Linked DNA regions of Homo sapiens: region 2 is linked to region 1. Evidence: promoter capture Hi-C in human tissues and cell types (Jung and others, 2019). All regions are on one chromosome and are shown on one strand. Each heading gives the region's core, a stretch centred on a gene start or on the middle of the fragment in contact. The rest is flanking DNA. Distances are from core to core; before and after follow the strand shown. Region 1 holds the start of LONP2 (lon peptidase 2, peroxisomal). Region 2 overlaps ITFG1 (integrin alpha FG-GAP repeat containing 1).

Evidence for each region. Contacts are between HindIII fragments. The study calls those that stand out against the background at their distance.
Region 2: a fragment that was not itself captured here is called in contact with the fragment with the promoter of LONP2 in region 1 in 3 of the 25 tissues and cell types used here (dorsolateral prefrontal cortex, heart left ventricle and spleen).

Annotation. Positions count from the first base shown.
Region 1 is chr16:48,241,997-48,247,139 of GRCh38, reverse strand. It overlaps LONP2 (lon peptidase 2, peroxisomal), which reads right to left and starts at 2,840. Exons shown (of 15, transcript NM_031490.5): 1 at 2,519-2,840. The coding sequence starts at 2,751. The region is part of intron 1 of ABCC11 (ATP binding cassette subfamily C member 11); the gene reads left to right. RefSeq lists an enhancer at 2,815-2,904. The HindIII fragment of the contact is 28,002 bases long and covers 1-5,143 here.
Region 2 is chr16:47,447,779-47,452,778 of GRCh38, reverse strand. ITFG1 (integrin alpha FG-GAP repeat containing 1) reads left to right here. Exons shown (of 18, transcript NM_030790.5): 4 at 1-46; 5 at 1,309-1,383. It also overlaps the pseudogene RNA5SP424. Among named protein-coding and RNA genes, the nearest start is that of ITFG1, 11 kb to the left of the region's middle. The HindIII fragment of the contact is 5,293 bases long and covers 1-4,080 here.

The DNA.
Region 1 (5,143 bases), core at 1,591-4,090:
CACATAGGCTTTTTAAGTAGCAAACAATACTTCTAGGATAACTAGATGGTCTGATGAGTTCTTATAATGCCGGACTTCTATGAAGACTTTTCAATATATGTTTTCTAATTTAAATGATTAAATTTTAACATTGCTACTCAGTTAAAGGCAATAATATGAACATCAAGGATCAGATCACACAGTACCTGATTATTAGTGATTACTTTCAAGCAGGAGAATTGAGGATTGTTGCTTTGGAGGGATTTTCATAAAATAAATTAAAAACCTGAAGGGTATGGTGGCGCTTGCCTATAGTCCCAGCTACTCCAGAGGCCAAAGCAGGGGATAGCTTGAGTCCAGGAGTTTGAGACCAGCCTAAGCAACATAGTGAGACCCCATTTCTACAAAAAATTTAAAAATTAGCTGGGTGTAGTGGTGCACGCCTATAGTCCCAGCCACTCCAGAAGCTGAGGCAGGACGATCACTTGAGCCCAGGAGTTCAATCAAGGTTGCGGTGGGCTACGATCACGCCACTGCACTTCAGCGGAGGAGACAGAATGAGACTCTGTCTCAAAAAATACACAAATGAATAAATAATAAAAACCTTCCAAAATCTTGCCAGAATAATACCAACAAATAGTGAAACTTAAAATGTGACTAAATCGACTTTTCAAGTTCACAATGTGCCCATGGCTAATCAATACATATGCACAGTAGAAAGAAAATGAAGTCTAATAATGACCACTCTTGCCTAGACAGGGAACTAAGTGTGCCTGGGCACAGAAGGCAAAATAATTTGGGAAAAGTAAGCAGAAGGAGCAGAGTCGTATGTTGGGAAACTAGAATCCAATACAATTTATCAAAGAGTACTGAAACTTGGAATGTGACCAATTCCACTCAGGCAATAACCAAAGCAGGTCAGATGGGAGCCAAAATATTTTCCATGCTTGAGAAAATCAAGGCTTTTACAATATAAATGAATACTGGGCTGCTGTGGAAGGTTTGTTGGTCTTTGTTGCTTTGTTTTGCTTTCTTTTAACGGGGGTGGGGGGAGGTACCAGTCTCCTTTGAGAATCTGAAGAAAGCAAAGGATTCTCCTAAAAAAATGTACATAGTCACAAGATTTTGAGGAAAAATAAGACATGTCCAACCCTCCGGAAATCCATTCAGAGTCAGGAACCCCTAATTTAAAAATAAGGGATAACTGCCAGGAAAGGAGAAGCTCTAAACTGAAAACACAACACCTCCAGTAGAGTTAGGAATAGGAGGCGGGTGCTTGGCAGGTGAGTTTGAAGATACTTGTTGAGAGCATACGATATACCAGCATTGTCCAATAAAAATATAATGTGGACCACATATAAAATTTTAGTGGCCACATTATAAAGTAAAAACAGCAGAAATCTTAACATTTTATTAACCCCAAGTACTCAAAATATTACCTTTCCAACATTTAATCCATATAAAATGTATTAATCAAAAAGTTTTTTCAAAATCTGGCGTGTATTGTACACTTACAGCACATTTAGGGTGACCAACCTCCTGGTTTCCCTGGGACGGAGGGGCTAAAACATAGGACTTTCAATGCTAAAACAGACAATCGCAGCAAACCAGGACAACTGGCAATTCTATCATCTCAATTTGACGAGCCACATGCACTACACAGTACTGGACAGCAAAGTCATCCATCATGCATGGTGCAAAGTGGAATATACACATTATTCAATTTATTCTTCATAACTTGCCTAAGAGATGGATGCTGTCAGTTTCCAAATTGCAGAATAAAAGAAATAGAGGTTAAAGCTCTCACCCAAAGTCACACCAATAGGGCGAGGGTACTGGGCAATATAGTAGTAAGCCTGGGGCCTAAGAAATGTTATGAGTGAAGGAGCAGAGGTGAGAAGCTAGGAAAGTTCCAGAAAGGGGGACCAGCGAAAATGTGAGCAGTAAAGGCCCTTTACAAAGGGAAACAGAAGGATTAGGGGGAGAAGGAGAAGGGTGGCAGGGAGTATAGAAGAAAGGCACCCACAAATAGTGCAGTTTAGGAATGAAACAGGAAAAGTTAAAACTCACGGAGCAGAGAATGCCTCAGCGGACAAAAATGATGGGTGACAGAAAAGGGGAGGCGGATAGGAGTAAAGGGCAGTGGGGAGAAAGGTGAAAAGCGAAGGCAAGTGAAGGCAGAGATCACCGGGGAGAAAGAAAGGGCCTGGAAAGTTAAAAGCACTGGCCTAGGAGGCTGAAGACCGAGGGCGAGGAATTGCGGAGAGGGGGAAGAGGATTCAAATTAAATTATCCAGAACGGTAGGGAACTGCGTAGTTTCACCAGGTGTCAGGCACTACTTCATGAACGATCTCATTCATGGTCATGGGGCAGGTATCTGACATCCCCATTTTGCAAGTGATAGCACCAGAGAGGCGGAACCGAGCCGCGAAGGCCGCCCCGAACTGAGCCTCGCGCTCAAGGCAGGCCGTGGCCTGGGCCCAGGTCCCCGGAGGAGGCCGCGCCGCCCGCCGCCGCCGCGGGGGCAGCCAGGCCTACCTGTGCAGCGGCGGCAGGTCCTGCGCGTCGCTGGCGGGGTCAGGCGTGTTGGGGATGACGCCCAGGATGGTGCTTTGCAGCGACGTGCCCTTCAGAAGGCGGCTCCGCACCAGCTGCAGGTTGCGGGCCGAGTCCACGCTGGTGCGCATGGTGGAGCCGGGCAGCAGGACGCCCTCGTGGGTGAGCAGCAGCGGGAGGCGACTGGGGATCTGGATGGGGCTCACTGATGACATGCTGGCAGCCTTTCGCACTGGGGGCTGTCAAAAAGAGCCAGACAGACAGCTGCCCCCGGCCTGCCCCGCAGTCACCAAACCTCAGACCCGCCTCCACGCCTCCGCTTCCGGCTACGCGCTACGGTCCGTCCCCGGGCCCAAAAGCCATGGCTTCGCGCTGCTCTCTAGGAGAGCCTCCCGGTAAGACTTGAGCGTCCTACCTATGCGGAAAGACGTGCACTCAAGCGTGCAGCGACCTTCGCCTCACTTACAGAGTATATTTGGAAGGATGATCTTATTTGAATTGTATATACTTGAAGTGTTTTTAACGTTTTCTTCGATTTTTTACATATACTTGAAGTGTTTTTAACTTTTGATTCGAACTAATTATTTATTTATTTATTTATTTATTTATTCTGAGACAGATTCTCGCTCTGTCGCGGAGGCTGGAGTGCAATGGCGCGATACCCACGGCTTGCAGCCTCTGCCTCCCGGGTTCAAGCGATTCTCCTGCCTCAGCCTCCCGAGTAGCTGGGATTACAGATGCCCGCCACCACACCCAGCTAATTGTTGTATTTTTAGTAGGGAGGGGATTTCACCATGTTGGCCAGGCTGGTCTTTAACTCCTGACCTCAAGCGATCCGTCCACCTCGGCCTCCCAAAGTGCTGGGATTACAGGCGTGAGCCAACGTGCCCGGCCCGAATTGATTTTAGATGTACAAAACTACAGCAGAGTTCCTATATACCTTTCACCCAGTTTCGTCTGTTATCATCTTACATAATCATAGTTCAATGATCAAAACCAGGAAATTAACATTATTATCGTTTAACCTATAGGCCTTACCCAAATTTTGCCAGTTTTCCCACTAATGTCCTTCATTGGATCTGGTCCAGGATCCAATATCCAGGATCCTGTTGTGAAATCTCCTAGGTGTTTTGTTATGAAATCTCCTAGGTGTTCTCTAATCTGTGGCAAGTCCTCAATTTTTTTTTTTTTTTTTTTTTTTTGAGACGGAGTCTCGCTCTGTCACCCAGGCTGGAGTGTAGTGGCGAGATCTCGGCTCACTGCAAGCTCCGCCTCCCGGGTTCATGCCATTCTCCTGCTTCAGCCTCCCGAGTAGCTGGGGACTACAGGCACCCGCAACCACGCCCGGCTAATTTTTTGTATTTTTAGTAGAGACGGGGTTTCGCCATGTTAGCCAGGATGGTCTCAATCTCCTGACCTCGTGATCTGCCCGCCTTGGCCTCCCAAAAGTGCTGGGATTACAGGCCTGAGCCACTGCGCCCGTCCAATTTTTTTTTTTTTTACAACCTTGATACTTTTATTTTTTTTCTGTTTTTAATTTAATTTTATTTTTTATTATAGTTTAAGTTCTAGGGTACATGTGCACAACGTACAGGTTTGTTACATATGTATACATGTGCCATGTTGGTTTGCTGCACTCACTAACTCGTCATTTACATTAGGTATATCTCCTAATGGTATCCCTTCCCCCCCACTCCCCACCACCCAACGACAGGCCCCTGAGTGTGATGTTCCCCACCCTGTGTCCAAGTGTTCTCATTGTTCAGTTGCCACCTATGAGTGAGAACTTGCAGTGTTTTGTTTTCGGTCTTTGCGATAGTTTGCTCAGAATGATGGTTTCCAGCATCATCCATGTCCCTACAAAGGACATGAACTCATCCTTTTTTATGGCTGCATAGTATTCCATGGTGTATATGTGCCACATTTTCTTAATCCAGTCTATCATTGATGGACATTTGGGTTGGTTCCAAGTCTTTGCTATTGCGAATAGTGCCGCAGTAAGCATACGTGTGTGTGTGTCTTTATAGCAGCATGATTTATAATCCTTTGGGTATATACCCAGCAATGGGATGGCTGGGTCAAATGGTATTTCTAGTTCCAGATCCTTGAGGAATTGCCACACTGTCTTCCACAATGGTTGAACTAGTTTACAGTCCCACCAACAGTGTAAAAGTGTTCCTATTTCTCCACATCCTCTCCAGCACCTGTTGTTTCCTGACTTTTTAATGATTGCCATTCTAACTGGTGTGAGATGGTATCTCATTGTGGTTTTGATTTGCATTTCTCTGATGGCCACTGATGATGAGCATTTTTTCATGTGTCTGTTGGCTGCATAAATGTCTTCTTTTGAGAAGTGTCTGTTCATATCCTTTGCCCACTTTTAGATGGGGTTGTTTGATTTTTTCTTGTAAACTTGTTTAAGTTCTTTGTAGATTCTGGATATTAGCCCTTTGTCAGATGGGTAGATTGTAAAAATTTTCTTCCATTCTGTAGGTTGCCTGTTCACTCTGATGGTGGTTTATTTTGCTGTGCAGAAGCTCTTTAGTTTAATTAGATCCCATTTGTCAATTTTGGCTTTTGTTGCCATTGCTTTTGGTGTTTTAGTCA
Region 2 (5,000 bases), core at 185-2,684, 790 kb after region 1:
TGACCATACTCAATAGGACTTTTCAAGATGAGCCACTAATTATGGAGTAAGTATGGGCTTGCTTCCTTTGAAACGATTTTAAACTTAAACATAAAATAAAATCTTCACATAGGAAACTACTTTGCTTAGTAATAAAAATACTAAATTCACTCAGAGGCCTGTACCTTTGATTATATTGTATTTATTTGCCATCAGATAGGACAAAGAAAAATGAAATTTATTATTTTGGAAAGTAGAAGAGATTTGTGTTTTTATTTCAGTCGCTTCAAATGTGTCCATTATGGATCTATGCTGTCATTACTGAAAGAATTAAGATACCTGTTTTTGAGTAAAACTGTTATATTTGATATTTAGGATACAGTTTCCTCTAGAAATTTAGAAAGATTCCTATATTAAGGAGAAATTTTTGTTCTTTTTATAATATAACTCCTGCTTTGTGTTATCATTTATATTCTCACTGTAGACTCATGTACCAGCATAATTGATTTAAATAATTGATGTAAATTTGGATTTGCAAATTTCTGACAGCGTATTTTGGTAGAGGTCGAGATCATTCCCGGGACTAGAGCAAAGTTTGGCCACATTCTTGTTTCCAGTACTGTCTTTCTTACAGTTATTAAAATCATACCCATACAGCAGTGTGTCAGTGGCCATTAGAAGTCTGAACTGTAAATCCATGGATTAATCTTCTTAACGGTGCCCCGCTAGATTTCTTTCATAGTTGTGTATTTTTTCATTGTTGTTAAAATATTCAATGGCCAGTATGAAGTTTTATACCAACTAGGATTATTTTTCTAGGTTATTTCTCCTAAGCCCATCTAAGTAAACAAGTTGGCTTAGGATTCTGAAGTAAGTTTCTAGGAATTAGTGCTGTATCCTTATCATTCAAGGGTAGTCTAGATAATGCAAAGATTACAGAGATACCCAAAATCTCACAAAACGAATTTATTTCTTGCTCTTACTATATGTCCAGTGTGGGTCAACAACAGGCTCTGCTCTGTGCTGTTGCTTAGAGTCAGGCCATCAGAGAGCCCACTGTCTTTGTAGCTAGTCCATCTGAATCACAATGCCTTCTCATTGCCATGGCAAGCCTGGAGAGGGCTGGAGGGGCTGGTAACAGAAATTATACACTTTGGCCTAAAAGTGACACATGTCACTTGTGCTGACATTTGACTTAATACTTATCACTAGATACTGGCGAGCATTGTAATGTCTACCACACTTCCCAAAAGTTACTGCTTCTTTTAAAGCTAAATTAGAAGTAAGAATTTAAAGAAATAGCTGCTTATTGTTTTAATTTTTTTTCAGTTTCAATGGTGATCTAATTCCTGATATTTTTGGTATCACAAATGAATCCAACCAGCCACAGATACTATTAGGAGGGTGAGTAAATATGGTTATAACTATGTAATTAATCGTATATATTGCTTCTACTTTAACCATTGGAGAAAAAATAGCTCATTGGAATCCTTGTTTTTAAAGATTTTTAAGTGGGCATTTGGTTAATATATATAAGCTTTCTCAAATAGTTTGGATTTGGCCTGCACCTGCTTTCCAAGGGCCAGCTTACTCCTTTTATCTCTTTGAAAAATTAGAGATTGAAACTTTACGGGTCCCCATTTAAATATTGGTTCATTAAATGTTTTTGAAATGGATAGATTTCACGTAAATAGGGAGGATACCTGCAGTCTTGAGTGGATCCTCCCTATCTTAGTACCTTAGTCATGTTAGCTGCTAGACTTTAATTGATAAGATTTGTTTCTTTCTGTCATTTGTTCAGTGAGCAGTCAATAACGGTCTAGTAATATAAGCACTCCTCTAAGCTCTGGAAACTTGTCAGTGAATACATTGTCCTTCACCAGTATGTGTGCTAGGCCTCTCTTACTATCTAAGTATGCAATTCTTAGGGAAAAGTGCCTGGAATCTTGCAATTCCAAGATATCCATTGTAATTACTCTGGATTTAAATAGAACTGGTCTCGTAGCACAAGAATTCCTGATAGCAAGATACTTTTCATAAGATACCTTCAACCCGGTTAATTTTTTTTCTGTATCTGATAAGGTAAAGTTTAGTTCAAGAGTACAGAACACATTTATTTACTTTTTTGTCTTTCTGAAAGTACAAAGGACCACCCTTATCAATCTGTCTTTCCCAGCTACTTGGAACTCTAGTGACTTTTCTCTTTGTGTTTTATAGAAATAGTTTGTTTTTATGATTCATTTTTGAAATGTGATTTGTAGGTATGCAGAGGAGTAAATTGTGAAAATTTTTAAGGTATTCTGAAGAGACACTTTAACATTTCCTATTACTTTTTCTGGTTTACAGCCATACCACCCTGAACGCGCCCCATCTCTTCTGATCTCGGAAGCTAACCAAGGTCAGACCTGGTTAGTGCTTGGATGGGAGATCACCTATTACTTTTTCTGTAGGTTTTTAATAAAGAATATGGGTGCTTTGATGCTAGTAATAGTGAACTTTGAAATAATTATTGTGAATCCTGAATGAGAAACCTGTTTTTTTCTCCAAAATTTGAAAAATATCTTGAAGAGAGTCTTGCTTTAGAGACAAATTGGAAGGAGATCCTGATTTGCTTTTGTGGCCGTATCCAAGAGGAATTGAGTGCAGGTGGGGTGCAGGGAAAACACAGTCCACTCCCCACCACCACTCCGCTCCTTCCACAGCAAATGGGGACTGCTCAGAAAACCCTGTCCTTTCTTTTCCTCTCTTCAAAGGCAGGCATGTGATTGAGGATGTGATGGTGACTTCTGGCCTGTTTTATTTTGTGGTAACTTCACTTTAGTCAGGGAAATAATTGGAATATCTTTAATCTGATGTAGTTTGACCTTTAGAAATTGAAAGTGAAACAGCTATTGTTGATAATTCACAAAGTATTAATAAAACTTCTATTACCTGTACAGATTTTTTACTTAATCTGCGAGAAAACTATTTAGAATATTATGGAATTGTGCCATAGCTTCTTTATTTGTTCTTAATTCTATATTAGATTTTTTTTTCTCTGCTTCATGAACAAGTTCAGATTTTAAAACATCATGCCTGAAGACATGTCCAACTTTATTTTTTATATGTTATATTCTGGTCCAATATACTAGAGTAATAATACTCTGGTATTTTAGGATATCTGTCATTTGAACCTCAGTTACAAATTAAACAATAGTAGCTAACCATATCTAAGTGATAAGTTTGCATCTAAGATTTGTCCTGATGCCAGTTTGAAGATATATAAGCTGACAGAAATTTGCATTGTTTAGAATGACTGTAGTCTAACAATATCATGGTTCAGACAACAGAAAGCTGAATATGCCCCTGTGGCAGCAAATATTAATATGTTACTAAAATATGAAAACTACGTTTAAGCAATGTCAGTTTTATAAACAACAGATAAGATATGTACATAGGTGAGTAAGTGAAAAAGTCATCAGCATTGACATTTTGGGTTATTCACGTGACCTTGATTGGCAGCCTAATCTTTTATTTATCAAGAAATCTACCTTTTACAACTTAAATATTATGCTTTATGGATATGCCAAACCCAAGATTATCTTTAATTGAATTTGACCAGCGCTTTGGTTTGGGAAGCATGCAATGATCTTTAAATTCAGTGTGAAATGCTTCTGTAGAATTATAGCAGAAAGCCCTTGCTATAACCTGGCTTAGTGCAGACATGCAAATCTGAGATAGCACAACCAGTTTGGCTGGACTAAAGGTGCAGATGATCAGTCTAAACAGCAGTGGTGATAAGCAGAAGAATTCCTTATAATTGGTACAGTGGGGTTATCTAACAGGGACAGGAAGGGCACTCACTGCATCTAATGAGGTTCAGGAGGTAATTGAAGTGTGTTAAATGGTCAAAGGTGAGACTTCAGTTTGAGCTTCAACTTCACTTATAATGACTTGAAATAATGTAATAATGTGCCATATTACTTAGAAATAACACCTAGCTGTTAAGTGTCACAGCAGCTTCTGCAGTGATGTGACGTTATTGATAATGAGCATTTTCTATAAGAGGACATTGGAAACTGATGTTGCATACTCATTCAGAATATTGTTTTTAATGTTGAAGTGAAAACACTTGTACCTGTAATTTTAGTCAAAACCAAATATAATGTTGGTCTGTTAAAATTTTCTGACTCAAAAAAAAAAAAAAAAAAAAAAATTTTCTGACTCACGTACTGAGTTCAAATACGTTCTGGGTCAGGCCCAAGTTGTATACTTGGAGATATTAATGTAGGTATGTGACAGATATATACTTTGCCGTACACTGTTTACATCACAAGTGATCGCATGAAAATATTGAATGTGGTATAAGTAGCACTGAAAGCAATCATTTTTAACTGTTGTGTGGGTAGATTTTGCCCCTCCATTATCAAAAAAACTGTATTCTCTATTTAAATGTAGTCAGCTACTATCAATCCAGAAGAAATAAATCTGCATTTTTCCATTTAGCCTTTCATATTTTCTCACATTATAACCAATGACTGATTTATTAAATCACCCTTCAGTTTTACTGTTGATTTTGTTTGTTTGCTGATACATTACAGAAAATATTATAAATATTTGTTTTAATGAAGTGTGACATTGTATCACTTAAATCTATTGTTTAGTAAGAATATGAAAATTATGATGAGGTTTATAACACAAAATAAAACCAAATAATACTCAAGGCAGCTTTTGACTTTGTAATCAGCGTTAATACCCATAACAAAAAAAGATAACTTTGAGATCATTTATATTTTCTTCAGATTCCCCTGGCAGCACCCTCCCTCTCATCCCATACAACATTCATATTTTTAATACTATTGTTAAAAGGAATCTATTAAAATCTGAGAGATCAGGTATTTTTTTCTAATCAGTATTTCCATGGAAACGTTACATCAGTTTTCTAACTTTTCTCTTTTCCTAAAGGAACTGTGCTATTAGAGATACATTAATTTCTTTTCCCAGTGTTTCTCACCCTAACCTTTTTCTTTTCAAAGTTAAAC